2 separate regions of the Homo sapiens genome follow, and region 2 is linked to region 1. Evidence: promoter capture Hi-C in 16 types of primary human blood cells and fetal thymus (Javierre and others, 2016). All regions are on one chromosome and are shown on one strand. Each heading gives the region's core, a stretch centred on a gene start or on the middle of the fragment in contact. The rest is flanking DNA. Distances are from core to core; before and after follow the strand shown. Region 1 holds the start of SNAPC3 (small nuclear RNA activating complex polypeptide 3). Region 2 holds the start of ZDHHC21 (zDHHC palmitoyltransferase 21).

Region 1 (3,673 bases), core at 324-2,823:
TTTCAGAGCAGGAGTGGAAGCTTATTTAAAAGGCCTTTAGGAAAGAAAGGAAAGCACGCTCGGAAGAGTCCCAAGCTGTCACTGAGGTCAACTGTGATATTGACCTCGATCCTAGGACTTTACAGGCTGGCTCCTTTCCCATGATTCTTCCCTTAGGGTGGGCTGCCTCCATGCGCAGTGCCCTCCTTACCCTTGGGAAGTGAGCACAGCGCAATATGTATGAAGTTGTATGCGTGCCCATCTGAGGCTTTCTTCCCTTTTCCGATAGAGTCCCCCTGAAAGGTCATACTCCCCGATTTTGTCTCTTAATGCATATGCCCAGGAAGTTGCTTCTCCCTGTCACCTGCATTCAACGAGCACTTTAGTGCAACAGGTGTGGGCCATCAGGAAATGGCCTCTCCCTGGCACCGGCTGCCAATTTATCACTTTTAGAGGCAATGTGATAAATGCCTAAGCATCACCCCACATTCCTAGTGGGTGAGGGAAGAGCCCTCTCCTGCCCTGCTCATGCCTAACTACCTGTAACAAACCTTGTAAACATTAAGCCAGCCACCAAAAGACCATATAATTCCGTTTATATTAAATGTCCAGATTAGTTAAATCTAGAGAGACAAAGTAGGTTCTTGGTTGGCTAGGGCTGGAGGAGTTGGGAGGATCAGGGGTGATAGCTAAAAAGTACAAGTTTCTTCTTTCGAGTGGTAAAAATGCTCTCAAATAGTGGTGATGGTTGCCCAAGCCTGTGAATATACCAAAAATCACTGAACACTTCAAATGGGTGAATTATATGGCATGTGATTACAGTCTAATAAATAAATAGTATGTCCTGCTGTATCCTTCAGGGCCTCTGAGAAATGGAGAGAGCTCCATCTGAAGCCAGACTGAGTTCCGATCCTGCTTCTATTTTCCCCGCAGGTAAATCCTTCCTCAACAGCAACACGGGGTGATACGCCCTATCCGGAAAGGTTGTTGTAATTTTTAAAAACATTAAAAACATACATTAGGGTTAATCATGTAGCGTGTGATACACAGACGCTCTGAAACACTACTGCACACGCACACCAACATGGGGCCTCTGCGGAGCTTGTGAAAGAACCAGATCTGGAGGGCTGGTCGTGTCCCTGGTCTCGGCCCTCGCCCTCCTTGTTTCTTAGGCTCTAAAGCAATCAGGCAGCAGAGCAGTCCTTGAACCCCAGTCAAGAAAAAGCCCTGCACCCCTTAGTCCGAAAGCCGCAAGGAACGGGGCCTAAGCGCCTGGCGAGGCCGCCCTACCGGGCAGAGACAGTTGCTACGTAACTCGGGGACCAGAAACCCAGCCCCACCCGCTGCGGTTAACCGACAGCCGCAACGGTTCCCGCACCGCCCGGGTCGGAGAACAATGCTGCGCCCTGCACGTAGAGCCTCGCGGTGCCGCGCCCTGGGGCGGGCCTGCCCATGGCCTGCCGGGAAATGTAGTTTCTGATGCCCTGCCCGCGCCGCCTCGCCGCTCGCCGGCCGGGCGCCCCAAGCAACTACAACTTCCATCACGCTCTGCGAGGCCTTGATCTGCAGGCTTTTGCAGGGGAAGGAGTGGGGCGAACATGGCTGAAGGAAGCCGAGGTGGCCCTACGTGTAGCGGGGTGGGTGGCAGGCAGGACCCAGTCTCCGGCAGTGGCGGCTGCAACTTTCCAGAGTATGAGCTTCCCGAGCTAAATACGCGCGCTTTCCATGTGGGCGCCTTTGGGGAGCTGTGGCGGGGCCGTCTGCGCGGGGCCGGGGACTTGTCGCTGAGGGAGCCGCCGGCATCCGCTCTGCCTGGGAGCCAGGCAGCTGACTCCGACCGGGAGGATGCCGCGGTGGCCAGGGATCTGGACTGCAGCCTGGAGGCGGCGGCTGAGCTGAGGGCGGTGTGCGGGTGAGTGCGGAGCAAAGGGGCTCTTGCAGCTTGGGGTCAAACAGGGTGCAGCCTTGCTCGTGCGCTCCTCTGGGACTCATCCCTGAGAAGGGCCTGTGGTTTAGACCTGGGCTAGGAGTATTACCCTTTAAAGCTTTCAACCCGCTGGAGCCTTCCTGGGACACCAGGAGAAGTCCTGGGACCCGAATGCACAGTTTCTACGAGTTGGAGCAAAGGGACAAGACAGCTGCATCAAAGACTAGTTTTTCCATTTGCTTATTCTAAGAGTGCTTGTTAATAAAGAAAAGCAATCAGGGCAACAGCGACGTGTACCTGCCATTGACAGACACTTTGACAATGGAGGAACCTGAGTAATGGTGAAGCTGCGGGAGACTTCATCAGAGGAGTGTTAAAACCCCGACTAACTGGTTTCTTTTGGGGACCTTCCGGGTATTCTGTTACTGAAATATTTCTTAAAAGTGCCTTATTTGGGGATGAAAATATAAAAATAACTTTAATCTCTTTCTCCATTTAACAGTACTGGCTGCCTTCATCGGCCTTTTCATTATAAAATATAATCACAGAAATCGTTGTCTTAAGTTCTGGCCTCTCTGAGCCGCCTGCTGGATTTTATCTGACTTCGTAATTCAGTAATGTATTTAGGAAAACAACCCTAACTCGCTGTGAACCAGATGCAGAGTCGACCTTAAAGTATTGCTTTTCCTTTTTGTTTTAGCCTTGATAAACTGAAATGCCTTGAGGACGGTGAGGATCCAGAAGTCATTCCGGAGAATACTGACCTGGTGACTTTGGGGTATGGAGGACTTGGTTTTTATGACCTATTTATTTAAACATTTTTTCAACATTATGTTTTGAAAAGTTGAAAGTGCAGTATTGATTGTTGTCTGTATACCCACCCCTTAAATTCAGCTGTTCTTAATATTTGACCATATTTACTTTAGCCGTGTGTATGGGATGCCTGCTGTGTGTTTTTTCATTTTGCTATCCCCCATTCAGTAAGTTAGACATGATAATTTACCCGTAAATACATAAGCATATAGCTTCTAAAAGTATCATTCTCCTACATAATTATTGTGGTATTATTATACCTAAGAAAACCGTAAATACATAATCTATAATATTCAGTCCATATTCAAACTTGTGTTTATTTTTTAATATTTTTGAATGTTTGTTTATAGAGGTAATCTACTTAGATCTGGGGGGCAACCTAAATACTCTGACAGTGTTTTTCAAACTATTTGTGGTAAAGGACAGTTCTTGTTTTTAAAAATTTTTAATCTTTGACAGATTTATGCTTTGATAAAATACTATAAAAAGAATTACTAGAAAAATGGAATTAAAAAAGACAAACACAATATAAGTTCAAATTTTTAATTAAATTCAATAGACAAAATTATTCAATGATAATGGAAGTTTCTAAATGCTTACTGTCATTTTCTGTACAGATTGGTTAACAAATAGGTCATAGATGAATTCTGGTCTGCCTACCACTCTTTGAGAGGCACTGTTGTATGATAATATAGAGAAATTGTGCATGTAATAGTGAAATTTATAATTTCCAATTTATAGTCCACTTATTTCATACTACCTCAGCTATGTTCTGTCGTTCTTGATCCTACGCTATTATCCCCCTCAAATATTCAGGCAGTCATTTCAACTCTACTTGGGTTTTCTTTCATAATAACTGCTAAATCTGTTCCCCTGGTCCCTACTGCTGACTTTTACAGCAGCAACACCTGGAGCACTGTGCAAGGTTCTTAAGTGTCTTTGATAAGTACAGTC
Region 2 (3,673 bases), core at 1-2,500, 730 kb before region 1:
AATCTAAAGAGTTGGAAGAATTTAATATTACACCAAAAGCCTTTTAATCCAGGAATGGCGCATACTAAGCAGTCATCAAATGGTGACTGTTATTAATATTATTCTTACCACAAGGAAAGCAGTGAATTTTTAAAAGTGCATATATTAGCATAGTAGGCTGAGGACCTATTTAACACATCTTTTTAAATTGCACTTAATTATCCTTAGTCGCCTTTGGACTGTAACTTTACAATATAATTTATGACCCGCCCACAATGACCTTGATTTTTTTTTCTCTTCTACTTTTAGAGACTGCTATATTGCAATATTTTAAAGTAATAATTGGTCATGTCCTCTCAGCCCTGGTGATACAGACATCCACCCTGACTCTCAAGGGATCTTAAAATGTGACCCACATATAGCTTGAAAAAGACCGTAACTTAAATGGACTCTGCAGTTACAATCCAGCGACCTGTTACAGTGAACAGTAACAAGTGCAAACTGCTGCCATCCATAAGCCATTTTCCGAAAACCTCTTTGGATCAAGAGGAGAGGAGTGAGAAGGTCAATAAAGGAGCAAACTGTTTGTCCTCTCTGCAGCTTCACACCAGAAGTCTGGAATGAATGAAAAGCTCTGGAATAGCACAGAGAAACCCGGGATCCCAGTGCAGGTCTCCAGACGGGGGTGCGGGGAGAGAAACTGTAGTTTACAAGCGAGAAACTCAGGATACAGATTTAAAATAAATAAATAAATAACTAGCCAACATCGTCTCGACTAGAGCAGGAACCCCCCACCCCCAGTTGAGGGAGGAGCACTTAGCAAGGGGCTGTAGCTCTAGCAGAAGACGCTCTGAAAAAGGCCAGGCCTGGGGCGGGGAGGCACCGAGAAACCCCCGGGTTCCAAACAGAGCAGGTGCAGGGGGCGTGCAGGAACAGGTGAGGGCGTCCCGGCGCGGAGGAGCGGCGGGCGGGCCCGGCAGAGCGGAGCGGGGGCCGGGGATGGGGGTGGGGGTGCGGATGGGGATGGGGGTGGGGGCGGCCGCTTCGCCCCCGCGCCTGCACACTCACCGTCGCCGCTGGCTCGCCTCTCGCTGCCGCCGCTCTCCCGACCGCCAGCAGCTCTTTCCCCTCCTCCTGCCGCGCCACCTCCGCCTCCTCCGGCGCCGCCGCCCAGGCCGGGCCGCTCTCCCCTTCCGCTTCCGGGAGCCTGAGGGCCTGGACCGGCCGAGTGGGTGTCCGCATGCCCGCGCGCCCGCGTGGGGAGGGACGACTGCCGCCGTCGCCGTCTCGCTTAGCTCCCGGGAGCCGCGATGGGAGCCGCTGAGGGCCGAAACTCCTGCAATCGCGCCGCAGCCCCAGAGCCGCGGACCCAGGCAGACCGCACTCTCCAGAGCGCTTGCACCTGGCGCGCCTGGGCGCCTCTGCCCCTCCCCAGCCCTACTTGAGCCGTCCTTCTCATTGTCCCCATATCCTCACTGCTCACCTCTCCCGAGAGACAGGATGGGGGCCTTAGCTTAAAAGATTGCATGTATCCTTTCTTCGGGGGATGTGGCCAGCAGGCCTCTCTCCCCGCAGGTGTTCTGGGATGTCCCATGGTACCTTGCTTCAAAGCGCGGTCTGCAGCATCAGCATCCTCTGGGAACTCACAATCTTTGAAATGCACAATTTCAGGCCTGCTGAATCAGTACATGCACTTCAGCAAGATCACCAGGTGACTCCTGGGGTGCACCGTAAAGATGGAAAAGCATTGCACTGTAGTGCATGGTCTCGTCCACTTCAGACCCTCTATTGGGTTGCCTCAGACATCCCAGGATATTTCCTGTTCCTGTCCTCAACCTAAATCCACACCCAAACAATCTTTTCTTATATTTTGGGAGACCTCCAAAAGTTTCCTGCTTTCCCATCCCTGCAAAAGCCGACAACTTTTGGACTCAGCGATGCAAGTAATCCACCTCTCAGTCTAACTTGGTATCTTCACCAAACACCAGAGATCTACTAACTTTCCCACCTCACTCCGGCTGAACAGTATTTGGGGAAGGTTAAACCGTTTGCAGTAATGTGGAGCTAGATCTTTCTGCCCACGTGCCACAGGAGGAGACAGTGTGTTGGTGGAAGAAATATTACCTGTTGTATAAAATCTGTATTCCTTATAAGATGTGCTTAAAAGCCCTCCACAGACACATCCCTACCTACCTCTCCAGTCTTAGCTCCAACTAATTTGGTTCATTTCCCCATTCTAGAATGCCCTGCTCTCTGATGATCTTAACCCTATCCAGATTTGAGAGTGGAAATCTTGCCAAACCAGAGTTCTCTCACCACTGCCCTTATATAGTGCACATTGTTGCCTGTTTGGGGCCTCATATTACCTTGTATTGCTAAGGATTTTTAAACATGTTGTGTCCTGGTTTCTGAACTAATTATAAACACCTTGTGACCTTAAAAACTTTGGTCAGTGGTTATCAAAGTGGGATCCCTAGACCAGCAGCATCGGTATCACCTGTCAACTTGTGAGAAATCCATATTCTTTTGCCCCATCCCAGATCTACTGTAGTAGAAACTGTTTAGGTGTAGCCCAGCAATCCGTGATGTAACAAGCCTTTTAGGTGATCCTAATACACACTCAAGTTTTAGAATTACTGACCTAGATTACTAGATATTCCCAAAAGAACCCAGTGGTAGGAATTGATTTACCCATAAGCAGATTTTATTGCCTTTCAGGTTAACAAATACACTCCCCGATATATGCATAGCGAGGTTGAAAGACTAGTCACGATTGCTTTTGATAGAATTACCTTTATTTTTCATAAATCATTTGATGTAGTAGGATTTTTGTAACTTTCTCTGTTTGAAAAGAAGGAGATATTTCATATAAACAATCACTTTGAAGGAAGAGGAAATGTGGAATCCTCCCACCGGAATCCAGCTACCTGATTGCGTATTCAATGTGAATCCCTTCTACCCAAATCCAGCTACCTGATTGCATATTAAATGTGGACTCCTCCCTACCCGAATCCAGCTACCAGAATTGCATATTAAATGTAAAATCCCCCCCCCACCCAAATCCAGCTACCCAATTGCATATTAAAAGTAGAATCCCCTCCACCTGAATCCAGCTACATGAATTGCATATTATTTTGCTTTCTCTTCAGATACCCCTGTGAGAGGGAATAATTTGTGACAAGTGATCTCAAAACTGCCAAAATAAGAATTAGTTGACAGGTCCATGATTGCACATGACAATTGGAAGTGCATGGATTTTTCAGTCCCTTTTTAAAATAAGTTAGCCTGTCTTTTATCAGCCAAATCAATTCCACAGAGAATTTTTAAGCAAGGGAATAGGAGAGAAGAGGCAGGAGAAACATCCTTAAAAACATGAACCTTTTTAGCATGGGCATTTCATGAGTATAATCAAAGGCCTGCCTATCCCTTACACTGAAGGTCAAGTCATCTGGTTCTATCATTCATGCTAATCATTGGTTATATTGTATTGCAACCCATACATTCAGGCACCTGGGTAACAATAAGGGGGTGAGGGAGATGTGGCATCAGGTAATCTTTTGAAAAGATTTTCTATTTACTGGGTATATTATGGAAAGACGATATAGATCGTACCATATTTTTTCCCTCCAGAATTCTAATCTACTTCATGGGGCCTGGGACAAACTGAAATGTGATTATTAATCAAACTAATATT

Evidence for each region. Contacts are between HindIII fragments. The CHiCAGO score rates a contact against its expected background, and 5 or more counts as called.
Region 2: the fragment with the promoter of ZDHHC21 here is called in contact with the fragment with the promoter of SNAPC3 in region 1 in 4 of 17 cell types (naive B cells, total B cells, activated CD4 T cells and 1 more); the score reaches 9.7 in naive B cells.

Annotation. Positions count from the first base shown.
Region 1 is chr9:15,421,303-15,424,975 of GRCh38, forward strand. SNAPC3 (small nuclear RNA activating complex polypeptide 3) reads left to right here and starts at 1,574. Exons shown (of 9, transcript NM_001039697.2): 1 at 1,574-1,891; 2 at 2,607-2,684. The coding sequence starts at 1,578. RefSeq lists a silencer at 1,301-1,590 and an enhancer at 1,931-2,050. The HindIII fragment of the contact is 2,004 bases long and covers 19-2,022 here.
Region 2 is chr9:14,692,182-14,695,854 of GRCh38, forward strand. It overlaps ZDHHC21 (zDHHC palmitoyltransferase 21), which reads right to left and starts at 1,251. Exons shown (of 10, transcript NM_178566.6): 1 at 1,048-1,251. RefSeq lists silencers at 893-1,032, 1,113-1,182 and an enhancer at 1,256-1,756. The HindIII fragment of the contact is 5,494 bases long and covers 1-3,673 here.